2 separate regions of the Homo sapiens genome follow, and region 1 is linked to region 2. Evidence: promoter capture Hi-C in human tissues and cell types (Jung and others, 2019). All regions are on one chromosome and are shown on one strand. The core of a region is centred on a gene start or on the middle of the fragment in contact, and the rest is flanking DNA. Distances in the headings are between cores, read along the strand shown.

Region 1 (7,196 bases), core at 802-3,301, 110 kb before region 2:
CAGTAAAGACCAGATAACATGAGCTATCATAATTTACAGAAGAATATATTGCATGCCCCATGTATGACTACTGCCTTATTAAAATAAAAGCAGCAATTCAAAAGACACTTTGTAAAAGAAACCCTTTATAAGGAATGACTAAAGATTGTTTTTACCTACTACTTATATTAGATTATATACCATGGCCCACAGATGTCAACAAACAACATTAGCTTATGGGTTTTTCCCACTGAAAATTACATATTATGAAAATACATAGTATGGAGTACACTGGAACAAAAATCAAGAGACCTGGATTGCAGTCCCAGGTCTGGCACCATCTATGTGACCTTGTGCAAGTCACCCACACTCTGTGAGCCTTGTTTATAAAGGAGAGTGGATTAGTAGCTTTCAGAAGTTCGAAAATTTCATTTCATAATCTGTACTTTCAGAACACGGAATCAAACAATTTAAGAGGAACTGCTTATTAATTATGACTTTTTATGCCTATCAATACCCACTGAAAATCCAAAAAGGGTTTTTAACCTAAGCAATCTAAATATATTTATCTCTCTTATTTCACAAACTTCATTTTCAAAATGTAGAGATCATATTAAAATTGTAAATTAAGAACAGACTTAAAACACTGAGAAGAAAGAATCACACAGTCAAGGGAAACTATAACTCAGGGAAAGGGCCACTTCAGAGTCAGAAAGTGAATGCTGCTAAATGAAGCAAAATCAACAATCGATTTGATAAAACATGTGTCTTACCAAAAGCCAATCAAAACTTTCAAAAGAAACCCAGTAAGAAGTGTTTAAATCAAATAAATCATAATGTAATGGATTGATCCTATATTCTTCAACATATACATAACCTTTCTTATGGTGAATTATGACACACATTCAGAAAGGTGCATTTTATGTACACATTTTAAAGACTTGGAGTGAGACTCCACTGAAAAAGTCAAGGACTACTAAGAGGGAAAGTCTGAGCCTTGTCATGTCAAAAAACTGCACATGTGCAAGTTGGCATATATTCAAGGTGCATGAAACAGACAGGAGGGAGAGAGAAGCAGGGGTAAGATGCCTTCAGATATGTGATTCTCTGCTCAGTCTGAATCCAGACAGAAGTCCAGTACTGCTCAAAAAACTTCAATGCTTACTGACTGAGGCACAACTTTTAAATGCTTGTTTTTATAAGACAGTACTTTCTTAATTTTTAAAGACAGATTTTATACTATGCCTAAAATTGTAACATGTAGTACATTTAACAGGGTAGTTTCCCATTTCCAGGAATCAACGATATCGGTTATGACTTATGAGGAAAGATGGCATCCAGATCTACCTCCCCTGTTTCTACCTCCAACTCCAGGACGAAAGAAACTGTACTCTATGTCCTCTCCCCACTCCAGGTAGGCACTCCCCCTTAAACAGCCTCATGGCCACGGAAGGAAAATGCAGCTCCTTTCTGCTTTAACCCAGTTCTTCTCACAATTCCCTCCTTTCTGCCTGTCCAACCAGTTAAGAAAGTCTCAAGGTGAATCCACAGGAGAAAGACTGCTCAGTCACGCCTGAGTGGCCACTTTAATCAAGATAAGGAGGTGATGGTGAGCAGGGCCAATGAATCCCCAGTGGAGGGATGGAGGCCAAGTCATGCTGCAGTGGAGTGGAATAAAAAGCTGAGTAGGAAAGAAAAGGATAAAGAACATCTCAAAAATGTGTGAAGGGGAGAGAGCCGGGGGTAATGAGGAGGCAGAGACACTTTGTTGATGTTGCCATTGTCGTTTAACTATGAAAGTAAGCTGCCTGGAAAGCACCAGCCAGACAATGTGGAAAGCCCACACTGCACAAATACTAGGGCACTGATTCTCATAATAACCCCACGTGGACAGAAAGGAAAAACAAACTTTGGTTAGAGAGGAAAGCAAGCACAACTACATATAGGATGCTAGACCAACCACAACTACACATAGGATGCTAAAAAAAAAAAAAAAGGAGGTAGTTATCAGTAATACCAACTCAAATGGCCACTAAACAGCACAACTGTATTCCCACTTGTTTTGGCCAACGAAAAGCTCACTCACACTAACTTATGATTTCTATTATTCTATGAGGCTTAACCCAAGAAAATAATTAGAAACGATTAGAAGCTTCCTGGATTTTTTTAAACTTAGAACCATGTAAGTCTTCTCCTTCTTTCTACTTTTTAAAAAATAATGAAATAAAAGTCCTAATCTTATGCCAAGACCTCTTCAGATCCATTTCTGGAGATCTTCTCTCACTTTAATGCAAGCTGCTGGAAAGGACGTTAAACTACTGACAACACTTAACATTCCAGACAAGTGACAAGCCTGGAAAAGGACAGCCTAAAAGAATGTCTGGCAACAGTACATAAGTGATTTTTCCAGATTTAGTCCAAAACACATTCGTTCCCAAAGTTCAAACTGCCAGAATGCAAAAAATTTTGCGTCTCCTCTGGCCACTACCTCCTTAGCCAAAGTTTCTGAATATTTACAAAAAGAAAACGTTTATTCAGGATCCTTTCAAACCACAGCTTTATGCTCAGACTCTTGGCAGGCAGTTTAAACTTGCACAATTTGGTATCGATAAAATTAACTGTCAGCCATAGTTTTAATTCAAAACATCAATCTATTTGTACATTTATAACAACCTCTGATGTGAAATACTAAATGAAACATTTCATTTTGCACTTCATTAATGGTTCAAATATAACAATGTAAAAAATCCTTTCTAAAAAGCTTATAATTGGCTGGGAGCAATGGCTCACGCCTGTAATCCCAGCACTTTGGGAGGCCAAGGCAGGCGGATCACAAGGTCAGGAGTTCAAGACCAGCCTGACCAACATGGTGAAAACCCGTCTCTACTAAAAGTACAAAAATTAGCCAAGTGTGGTGGCAGACACCTGTAATTCCAGCTACTGAGGAAGCTGAGGCAGGAGAATCGCTTGAACCCAGGAGGCAGAAGTTGCAGTGAGCCAAGATCACGCCATTGCACTCCAGCCTGGGCAACAGAGCAAGGATATGTCCAAAAAAAAAAAAAAAAAAAAAAAAAAAAAGCTTAAAATTTTGGATTTGAGAAGTCTTTCTAAACTAAATAAGTTAAAATAGAATTCAAATTCAGTGTAGTAAAAACTAAGTCTTTTTTTCAACAAGCATTTCACTGGTTAGGTTAAAAAGAAATTAATAAAAAATGCTAAGAAGTTCTTTTTCCCTGTGTCTAGTGAGTATAAAGCAGTGGTACTTAATGAGGGGTAGGGGACAATTTTGTACCCTAGGGGATATTTGGCACTTCCTGTACACATTTTTCGTTGTCACAACTGGGTGGGAGGCAAGGTGCTACAGACAGTGAGTGTGTAAGAGGCCAGGAATCCTAGTAAACTCCCTACAACACACTGGACAGCCCCCCACGACAAAGAATTATACAGCCTAAAATATCAATACAGTCAAGGCTGGGAAACCTTGGTATAAGGGGACTGGTTAAACTTGGAAGGAAGGGTTTGTCTTTCTGTAAATCGTTCCGTAAAAAAGGTCTCATGTGTACAGACAATCTGCTGAGAAAGCCACAGTTCTGGCAGCTGGCAGAGCTGAAAGAGAAGGGAAAATCTATGCACAGGGCCCTTGGATTTCCACCCATATTCCCCAGGAAAGGATACAGTTCCAGGAAGGGCTCTCTCTGATCTCCCGGAATGAAATCTGAGATGAACCACAGGGCCTTATTGCTTACCTGTACCTCCTTTTTGTAGTTTCCAGCTGGCCTGGCACAGACTGACAACCCCAAATGGATGGTCGAAATCCACTGTTCTCCAGTCCCTCTCAAACCTCACCGGCAAGAAGGAAAGAAACTAAACCCCGAGGGCCCATTATATTCCAGCGGGGTCCTAGGGATTCCACACTCATTCAGTTCCTTTACATCATAAGAAGTGGGTATTATAATATCAGATCCACTGTAAAAGGTGATCCCGAAGCAAATGGTAGAGCAGGAGTCTGAATAGGGGCACCTCCAACAGCCACATCCACCCCACCACAGCTCCCAGGGGTTTCTTTCTAATCTCAAGGGTGGCCTATACCCTGGGACTATAGGGGGCCTTGGTGTGCTAAATCTTCAGAGACATTTTTAAACGGTCAAGACGCCTCTTGGCGACTGGAAGAAGTTCCTGACCTCGCGGCATTCCCTCCTTCCCATCCCCACTACCACACCAATCCTATGCCAGCCTGTCTGTGTCAGGGAAGAAGTCCAGCTGGACAACTCTGGCAGCCTCCTGTCGCCCTCCCCTGCCAGCAATCCTTCTGTGCCACAGCTGTGTGTCCACACTCTAAAGCACACATCCCACCAGGCCACTCTCCTGTAAAATAATGCCTCACTGTCCCAGGCCAAATACCCCAGCGCCGATACCTGCTTCTTCAAATCCAGGCTCCAACCCATCCCTCCATCTCATTTCCATTTTACGTGCACACATAGTCACACACTCTCACATACCCACACTTTGGCTCCTACTGTTCCTACCCCTGAAAACCCCTTACCACTTTCCTCCCTGAGAAATAACTGCTCGTGCATCACTTCAGGACTCAGCTCCACTGCCGTGTCCTTAGTGATACCTTCCCTTGTCTCTAGTTGGTTGGCCCCCCATCCCTCTTACCTTTCTGGCCACAGCACTCACCTAAGTGTCTTTTATCCAGACAACATTTAGGGTATACTTAGACCAAAAAAGTCATCACTATTTATCTGAAATTCACATTTACTTATTTTTAATTTTCATTTTTTTGGAGACAGGGTCTCGCTTTGTAGCCCAGGCTGGAGTGCAGTGGCGCGATCTCAGCTCACTGTAACCTCTGCCTGCAGGGTTCAAATGATTCTTCTGCCTCAGCCTCTTACTTGAAAAACAGACAAAAGCAAAGCTATGATGTGAATAGCCTGAATTACTGCAAAAAGTACATGAATGTCAGAAGTAAATCCTAACTCTTACTAGATAGGTCAGTTAATCAGTGACACAGTTCACGGCCTGTTATTAAGATATCCTATAACTGAGTCTAGAACTTTACTCACTTCTTAGTGGTAGGACAAAGATATAAGACAGAAAAAGAGGAAAGCAGTAAAAAGTACTTCCTTTCAAATTCAAAATGTCATGGTCCATACTTCCTTGTTAAAATGCCGAAACACACCATATGACTCAATTATTAATACAATAATTTTGCTGTTACCAACTTAGGATAAGCTTCACCTATGTCTTTATCTCAGGAGCAATGTATTGCAAGTTCAAGCAATAAAGTGTAATTACATGCGAGAATGTCAATATAACATAACCAATCAGGTACTAAAAAAACAGAATATGTAAAATAACTATGATGTTTCTTCCCAATATTTCATTCTCATTTTTAAAAAGTAAACTTTCAGAACAGTACTGTAAGACATAAGCAAACTTTGACTTTCAGTAAAAGGTTACTACTAACAGCAAGTGTCAAGAATAGACTACCATGCAGATTTCACTGCAGCTTACCCCCACTTTATCAGATGGAAGTCTTAAATCTAAGCCTTCGAAACTATATTCTAGGTTACAAACATCACCAAAAAATCACCAAAGCCCTACACACATATACATGCCTCTGAGAATGTTGCCTGTCGAATCTGATTTACTGAATAAATGAGTAACTTGATTATTTTAGCTTAAATAAACAATCGCTTTTAAGGACTTCAAAACACAAAATCAAGATTTTCTTTTCAAAAAAGAACAGCGCGCCAGGCGCGGTAGCTCACGCCTGTAATCCCAGAACTTTGGGAGGCTGAGGCGGGCGGATCATGAGGTCAGGAGTTCAAGATTAGCCTGGCCAACATAGTGAAACCCCGTCTCTACCAAAAATACAAAAATTAGCCGGGCTTGGTGGTGGGTGCCTGTAATCCCAGCTACTCAAGGCTGAGGCAGGAGAATCACTTGAACCCAGGAAGCGGAGGTCGCAGTGAGCTGAGACCGCGACACTGCACTCCAGCCTGGGCGACAGAGCAAGACTCCGTCTCAAAAAAAACAAAACAAAACAACAAAAAAAAAAACAGCAGTATTGTTTTAGATCATAACACTTAACATAGACCACGTGATACACAGAAGGCAGCTCTTTGAATAGGAGCAGCCTGGGACATTTGCTGGCTTGTATTCATGAATTTACATACCAAGTGGAAAGAACTCAGACTGGTTGGGTAGAATATGCGTTCAAATGCTAACAACTCCACTACTTATTAGTTATCTGGCTCTGGGCATATTACTCATCTCCAAATTTCGGTCTTTCATCTTTAAGTAGAAACAGCTAACACATAGGATGCTATAAGAACCACATCAAACGATGTGTGGAAACTAACAAGGAAAATGCTCAGCCCACAGAATTACAGTAAGCATCCATCTCCTTTCCTTCCCACTACAACCAGAAGGACAAATTTCCCTTTATCCTAAACTTACTTTCTTCTATCTTGTCACAGTACTAGTAGACATATAGCTCTCCCTTTCCACTACAATCCCCAGGGCTGCTTCCACTCCGACTTAAGCAGAGAAACTTCAGAGGTTCTTCTAGACAACTACAAACTTTGTCACCCAATCTAAGTGTGTGCCACCCTCTTCCAATCCTAACCACCACAGCTTTGATCACTCTAGAGTTTAATTCAACACAGCTTTCTTTTACCTTCCTCCATCTTCCTCTTCAATCAACTACAAAATTACACTTACTTTTCCTTTGATTGTCCCTGGTGACTATGTGTCTCTCCCTTTCTCTTCTCATCCACTCCCTCTACTCTGCATGAGTCACTCCACTGGCCTTTTATCAGGCTTTCTTGACTGACACCGATCTCTCTGATCCTTTCTGTATTCTTTCAAATTGTCCTCCTTCTTTCTGAACTGTTGCTTTTTAAAGATGGGATAATAGTATTGTGGTGGTGTTTTTAATTTTAAAGATTCTCAGCTGGGTGTTGTGGTTCACGCATGTAATCCCAGCACTTTCAGAGGCCAAGGCAGGCAGAACACGAGGTCAGGAGATCGAGACCATCCTGGCTAACGCGGTGAAATCCCGTCTCTACTAAAAATACAAAAAAATTAGCCGGATGTGGTAGTGGGTGCCTGTAGTCCCAGCTACTCGGGAGGCTGAGGCAGGAGAATGGCATGAACCCGGGAGGCAGAGCTTGCAGTGAGCCGAGATCACGCCACTGCACTCCAGCCTG
Region 2 (7,227 bases), core at 1,411-3,910:
GTTGGGGTGCACTGGGCAGGGGAGGTGAGGGGTGAGTGAGGGCCTGGGCCCAGGGAAGCAGGGAGGAGGCCCTGAGGCTTCAAGGGCTGTGGGAGCCTCCAGGGCCAATGCATGGCAGCAGCTGGGTGATGGTCTCTCTGGCCCGCACAGCAGAAAAGGACGCTGAGGCCGCAGAGGCAGGGGCCTGCCCTCCCTCCACTGCCCACGCCTCTAGCCTCGACCTGGCTTCTCCCCTGCCCTGGCATGGCGGAGCTCAGTGGATAGGCACTGGCCCACCTCTCTAGGGACCCCTGCAGCTCCCACTCACTCTGGGCTGGGACCGCGGTCTGGATGCCAGGGAGTGGAAAGGAGCTGAAGGAACTCTCGCAGGCGGGCAGGCCTCCCAAGGGACTGGTTCAGCCAGAGAGGCAGGGCACGGACAGGCCAAGTCTCGGTGTGCATAGATTAGCGCTGGGGAAAGTCCCCGTGGGGGCAGGCTGTGGGCAGGGAGGAGGGCTCACCAGCCAGCCAGGTGCCCGCACGAGGGAAGGAGTGGCCGTTGTCCAGTGACACAGTGAAGGGGATGCGGCCGCTCTCATAGAGCAGAGGTGACACACAGTGCACTTGCCCGGAGGAGTCCACATGGCCGAGGGTCTGGATGCTGTCCTTAAACCTGTGGGCGTGGTGGTGGTGGGAGGGGCTGGGTCATTGCAGGCTGAGCCTCTCGATGGTCTGGGCCCCCAACCTCCCTGGGGAACCCAACCAGCCAGCTGTCCCTGTGCCCTCCTGCCTGTCCTGGGTCCGAGGGGCTCCACTCAGCCAGTCAGTGGGTCTGAGCCCTCAGCATGCACAGGGATGGGGGCGTGGGGCCCCAGTGCCCGGCCTCCTGGGCCTCCCAACCTGCAGATCACACTGGCGTCTGTGGGGCTGGACATCTTGAAGTGCCGCACCACAAAGTCCTTGCCGCCCATCATGGATCCTGAGTAGGGCAATATCTCCAGGCAGAAGTCCCGGAAATCCAAGCAGCAGGTGCCAAGGCCAGAGCACGTCGGGTGGCAGGAACATGGCCCGTCCAGGGCGCCACAGCGCATGGAGCAGCTCTCTTGGGCATCTGGAGGAGAGGATGCTGAGGGCCTGGCCCGGCGGGTACTGGACTGGCTGCCCCATGTGCAGGGCCTGTCTCTGTTTCTCCCACAGCCCATTAGACAGCAGCATCCCCAGGAGAACGCTGGCCAGGAACTGCACAGGCCACCAGGTGGACACAGTAGAAAGCCACAGGGCCCGTGGGGATGGGATGAATCTTAGCACAGACCATCTGGCTGTTGCCCTGACTGACGGGCTAGAATGCAGCGAGAAGAGGCAAAAAGCTGCATCCGCTCAGCCCTGCAGGGTCAGGAGAAGCCCCTGGGCATGACTGCCCTTCAGCCACCAAGTCCTCTATCCCACAGGCAGGGGTCCTCAGTGGGCCACGGTAGCTGGAGCCCTCGACCTCTCTTGGCTCCCCAGGGTGTCTGTGGTCAGCACGCCTTCTGGGGGCCCTGAAGCCTGCAGAAGAACCCCTCTTGCTTGCCTGGACTGGGGTGGGGGATATGGCTGCCAAGAGTCTCATTTGAGGCCTGGTAGGGAATGGTGCAGGGTCTGAACGTGACACTTCTCGCTCTCCCAGGGGCTGCAATTGAGACCCCAAAGAGAGCTCCGTGCTCAGGGCAGAAGGCCAGGGCCGCTCCCCTCCTTTCTGGGGAGAGGAGGGACATTTCAAGCAGGGGTCCCAGCAGTGGGGAAAGGGAAGTGGGGGTGCACACCACAAGGGGCTGTGGGCGCCGGGCCCAAAACTTCTCCTATGGGCCATAAGACCGGTGGGCAAGGCCATATTTCCAGGGGCTGGCATGAAGGAAGGGTTGCAGGGAGGGACTGGGGCAGGTGCATGCACCCAGGCTGGAATTGCACTTCCCTGGCCCTTCCCCATCCCCCATCAAAAGAGGCCAGTCGAGGGCCAGGCCTGGGCCTGAGCCACCCCGCTGGCCCCACTTCACCAAGTGCAGTGCCTGGCACTTAAAAGCAACAATAAATATGTACTGGCCAAGGATTTGGTGGCGCACAGGGGTCGGGGGAGGAGGCCGAGAGATGCTTGCAAGTGAGATAAGTGGCAAGAGGGTCGATGGGAAATGGGGTGGGGGACGGGGGGCAGCCTGGGACCAGTGTCCTGGTTCTGGAGTTCGGGGCTTTCCCTAGACTTTCCTGGATTCAGCCCCACCCTGATGAGGACCCACAATCCTGGCTCCCCCTCCGTGATCCCGCCCTGTCAGGGCTGGGGACACAGGCGGAGGCCTCTGCTGGTCTCCCCCGCCTCCCTCCTAGCTACCAGCAGGTTTAGGGTGGGCCCGGCTCAGACCTCCCATCCCCATGGGCTGCCCCTCCACATGGACCCTCAGAATTTCTTCCCATCACCCCTAGCACAGCCACAGATGGCCTGACAGATGGACAGAGGCTGAGCCCAGAGGGATGTCAGCCCAGGCCTGGCTGCAGACAGATGGACAGACAGACGGGGACACAGAAGGGCAGGGAGGCATACCTGCTGTGGGTCCGGGGCCCGGGCCGAGGGCTGTCGCCAGCAGCAGCAGGGCCCAGGGCAGGAGGGCTGGCTTCATGGTGCAGCCTGTGTCTGCAGCCAGCAGTGCAGTGGCTCCGAGGCGAGGCGGCCAGACAAGCTCACTCCCTGCTGGCCTGGCCCCGCCCGCCCTGCACTCTGCGGCACCGCCCCGCCCCGCCCCTCCCCGCCCCTCCCCACCCAGTCCCCTCTCAAAGTCCACAGGTGCCTGCGTGGACCAGCAAGGCCCAAGTTGCCCCGTTAGCACATTCCTGGCCCGCAGGCCTGGATCGGCCCTGGGACCCTGTGGGAGGGTGAGGAGGCCGGAGCCTCCAGCCACAGGACCTTTGGCAGGCGATGAGCCGGATGTCCAGAGGGCGAAGCTCAGACCCTGGGTCCCAGCCCCGCCTTGCATGCAGGGCGAGCCCGGCGGGGCTGAAGCAGAGGATGGGATGCGCAGGGTGAATAAGGCAGGGCTGTTTTAGCTCCAGGGAGGATTCCAGACTCTGTGGCCCTGACATAGACCTCCATCTCTAGCCCTCATCTTCCTGCAGGAAGGAGGTGCACCCAACTCATCCTCAGGGGGAGGCAGGAGCTGTTTGGGTCAGACACAGGCTGAGCCCTGGGGCGGAGGCAGCTCTGCAGGGGTCCCCTCTGGAGGGAGGAAGGAGGAAGGGGAGAGAAGGTACCCAAGCCCAGCGGGGGGCCCGGAAGGGAGACAGGGCCCATCCCCGGGCTCCAGAGATGCCACCACCCTGGGGAGCCTTGGCTGTCCCAGCCACACCTAATCCTGCCGCTAAGAGTTTGCATAATTTAATCAGTATTCACCTCCCTTCTTGAGCAGATGAGGAAACTGAAGCTCAGATGCGGATAGGCAAGGCCGAGCCAGGCCCTTGGTGGCTTCTGGGAGCCCCTGCAGCCAGGGCGGGTGGTAAGGGCTGCGGCCTGGGACTGGTCATTTGGACCCTGACACCTGGGCTGGACATCCAGACAGGCGGGTGGTCCTCTCCCAGCTGCAGCTTCTCAAGGTGTCCAAAAGGGACCCTTGCCACACTTGCAGGGAGTCAGAGGTGGCCCCAGGGCATGAGCTTAGGCCATCCGGTCTGTGATCTGCCCCAGCGCTTGCGGCCAGGCCAGCCCATTGTTCCCCGGCCTGTTCTCTCTCTTGCCTGGGTGGTGCCTGCTGGGAACCACAGGGTGTTGGCAGCCACCCGTGGCTCCAGAGAGGTGGCCCCTACTGAAAGTGTTAGAGGCGTGTGCTGGGGGACTTGGCTCCTGAGTCCCCACACAGAGCTGTTCCAGGGAAGCCACACCCGCATTTGATGTTTTCCCACCTCCCAAAGACATTTGGTGAGAGGCCCCCAAGACCTTCAGCTTCTCAGGGACTGTCTCCAGAGGGGAGAAAGTCCCTTAACCCACAATGGCGCTCAGGGCACCTCTGCAGGTGAGTGTCCTGTAAGTGGACGCTCAGGTGCTGAGCCAGGGAGAGCCTGTCTCCTGGCCCCAGGCTGGCGAGGGCATTCATCCCAGGCCCAGGGCTGAAGTTGCTCCCTACAGCACTGGGTGCAGGGGAGGGTCCGAGGTGTCCGTCCTCCTATAGGTGAGGCTCCAGGGAGGGGTGCTGGGGGATCGGCTGAGACAGTTCCCGGGAACTGGAGGAGGGAGAGCTGCTGCTTCCTGTTTTTGGCCTGGGCACCGTTGCTGCGCGTGTCTGGAGACAATGGAAGTGCGGTAGGGGCTAGGTGTGCAGTCTGGGAAGCTCCATACCCCAGGCCCTGCAGGGAGGGGGCGTCAGCTGAGTAACTGGGGCTGGCTTATCTCAGCCCCCCGAAAGGCGGGTTCAGCCAGACCCATCTGGGGCCACCAAGCCTCTGGTTCCAAAAGGGCGGTGCCCAGCCCTTTACGCCTTTCCTCCTGGGTGGTGGGCATGTCCAGCCCATGAGGGGCACAGGGCAGTGAGGAGGGTCCCCATCTCCATCCTGGACAGAGAGCCTGCTCCATGGGAGGTCCCAGGGCCAGGAGGGCCCCTGCGGTGCTGGGAGGGGAAGAGAGTTGTGAAGGGTGCCAGCTCTAGGGGCTTAATGCTCTGTGGGGCCTGCCTTAAAATCCTTAATCATTTTTGGTCAGACATGGTGGTGGCTCAGGCCTGTAATCCCAGCACTTTGGGAGGCCAAGGTGGGTGGATCACTTGAGGTCAGGAGTTTGAAACCAGCCTGGCCAACATGGTGAAACTCCGTCTATACTAAAAATACAAAAATTAGCTGGGCGTGTTGGCGTGTGCCTGTGATCTCAGCTACTCGGGAGGCTGAGGCAAGAGAATCGCTTGAATCCAGAAGGCGGGGGTTGCAGTGAGCTGAGATCGTGCCACTGCAGATCGTGCCACTGCATTCCAGCCTGGGAGACAGAGTGAGACTCCATATCAAAAAAAAAAAAAAAAAAAAAAAAAAATCCTTAATCCTTTTTGATCAAGGAGCTTCATATTTATGTCTTGCACTGAGCCCAGCTATTCTGTGACTGGCCCCATTAGGGCGACTGTGATGGGAGTTAAGTACCCTCCCTGCCGGCCCCATCCCCCCTTTCCCTCCCTGACAGCCCCCTCCTCCCAGCCTCTCAGCTGCCCCAGCCCTGCCTGCCCTCCCACCGTACAGCCTCCCACCCACTGGCACCCAGGTGCGTTCTGGGGATGCACCTAACTCCCCTTTGAAGCCTGGCTCCAGCTGCACTAGAGGCGTCTGCCTGGCCCAGCCCCGAGTCGGCTCTCTCCTTACCCCACTGGGCACCCCCAGCCGCTGCTTTGGTTGCCTGGCTGGTCCCTGAGATGCTGGAGAAGGAGGGGGGCTAGGCCCTGCCCTATGGACTATGGCAGTAAAGGCCCAGAATCCCTGGGGACAGCAACTCTCCGCCAGAGACTCTGCCAGATTGCCCCCTAGAGGTGAGCAAAGAGGCAAAGACAACTGTTCCATCTTTATTAGAAAAGCAACCAAAAAAAGGGTGAGGGGTGAGCCTGGCCCTAAAGGACCCCTCCACTGTGACACAGGCAGAGCCGGCTCATCCCGGCGTCGAGGGGTGGATATGGCCAGCTGGGTGTGGGCAGATTTACAAAGTCAACACTTCATAGAAAAGGATGCCGCCTGGCGTGCAGATGGCGACCAATCCACCTTCACATGGCTAAGGCGGGCCCCTCCTCCTCTGGGCTCCCATGTGGTGTGGACAGCCTGACCTGGGTACAGGGAGGATGCCATGAGGAGGTGGGCTGGGCAGGCCTGGGGGCTGTGTGGGGAGTGGCATCCATGTGGGCCTCTGGTCCTGCCCAGGGTCCTGCCCAGGGGGCATTCCAGGCCTGGCTGGTCCCCTGGGGCGTGGCGGTGGGGCTGCAGTGGCCCCTCAAATGTCCATGTAGTCGTCGTCCTCGTCTGTCTCGCTCTCCAGCGAGGACTCCTGGCTGGATGTCTCCAGGACCTCCAGGGCTGGCTGGCATAGGCTCTCCTTCCTCACGTTGGCAGCAGACTGGGCAGAAAGGATGGCTGACTGCGGAGAGGGCCGGGCGGGGCACTGGTCAAGGATGGCTGGGCTCTGCCCCAAGCCCCTCTGCCACCTTCACCCCTGCCCCAGGCCCCCCTCCCACCCTCACCCCTGCCCCAGGCCCCTATGCCATCCTCACCCACACCCCAGGCCCTCCTGCCACCCCCACCCCCATCCTAGGCCCCCTTTGTAACCTATGCCTCCCACCCACACATGGCTCCAGCCCAGCCCCTGAGGTCACCTTCAGCTTCTGCTTGGTCTCCTCCGAGATGCTGCCTTTGGGGGAGAGCAGGGTTGGGGTGGGTGGCGTGACGGTGATCTCAGGGGGGAACTTGGTGGCGGCGGAGGGGATGACCAGCTTTGGCATGTTGGGCAGGGGGCGGGACTTAGCCCGGCTGGGCTCAGGCTTGCCTGGGTGACCCTCTGGTGGCTGGGCACTCCCACTGCTGGGGGCCTTGGAGCTGGCAGCTGTTGGGGGAGAGCTCAGGGGCTGAGTCTCACTCGCAGCCTCCTGAGCCTCCCCATCCCTTCTCGGCTCAGGCCTCAGTTTCCCCTCTGGAAGACAAAGGTACCAAGAGCACTTCCTGCCTGCCGCATCACACAGTGAGCACTTTATCTCGCCCCCACCCGCTCCCCCCAGGTCCTGGGCCTTTATGCTGTGTAGTTTGTGCTGGCTGGCAGGCTCCAAGGCTTCTACCCTGGGCAAATACTTGGCTCAGGCCTGCAGGGACCCAACTCTGGCTCTGAGCTGTGGGGTGCTGGGACTGTGAACCTTACCCAGTAACACCATGAACTCAAAGCCCAGGACCTGAGACTCCCTGAGCCTTGCTGGGTTCTGTAAGACCTCCAGGCATCATGCTTGCATGAACTGTCGTATTTCCACAACCATCCTAGGATGCATGTCCTATTGGTGTCTATGCCCCAGGGAGGACACTGAAGCCCAGAGCTGGTCGCTCAGCCAGGCATGGTCACTGAGCTGGCCCCAGGGCATCCACTTTCGCCTCATCCTCCAGTGGGAGCAAGGGGCTGAGTTTGCCCAGAGCCTGAAGGCTGGGCCAGTTGCAGGCCTGGCAGCCTCTAGGGAGCTGCACGAGCTGGGAGGACCCGGCTGGCCTGGCTCGTCTCCACATTCCTCTGCA

Evidence for each region. Contacts are between HindIII fragments. The study calls those that stand out against the background at their distance.
Region 1: a contact is called between a fragment that was not itself captured here and the fragment with the promoter of SUSD2 in region 2, in 2 of the 25 tissues and cell types used here (aorta and pancreas).

What each region holds. Positions count from the first base shown.
Region 1 is chr22:24,284,477-24,291,672 of GRCh38, reverse strand. The region is part of intron 2 of SPECC1L (sperm antigen with calponin homology and coiled-coil domains 1 like); the gene reads right to left. All of the region lies in intron 2 of SPECC1L-ADORA2A (SPECC1L-ADORA2A readthrough (NMD candidate)), which reads right to left. Among named protein-coding and RNA genes, the nearest start is that of SPECC1L, 17 kb to the right of the region's middle. RefSeq lists an enhancer at 7,011-7,196. The HindIII fragment of the contact is 4,170 bases long and covers 1-4,136 here.
Region 2 is chr22:24,176,920-24,184,146 of GRCh38, reverse strand. SUSD2 (sushi domain containing 2) reads right to left here and starts at 2,660. Exons shown (of 15, transcript NM_019601.4): 1 at 2,552-2,660; 2 at 880-1,090; 3 at 501-652; 4 at 1-11. The coding sequence starts at 2,627. CABIN1 (calcineurin binding protein 1) reads right to left here. Exons shown (of 37, transcript NM_012295.4): 36 at 6,330-6,643; 37 at 5,519-6,094. The coding sequence ends at 5,951. RefSeq lists enhancers at 431-540, 611-690. The HindIII fragment of the contact is 36,064 bases long and covers 1-7,227 here.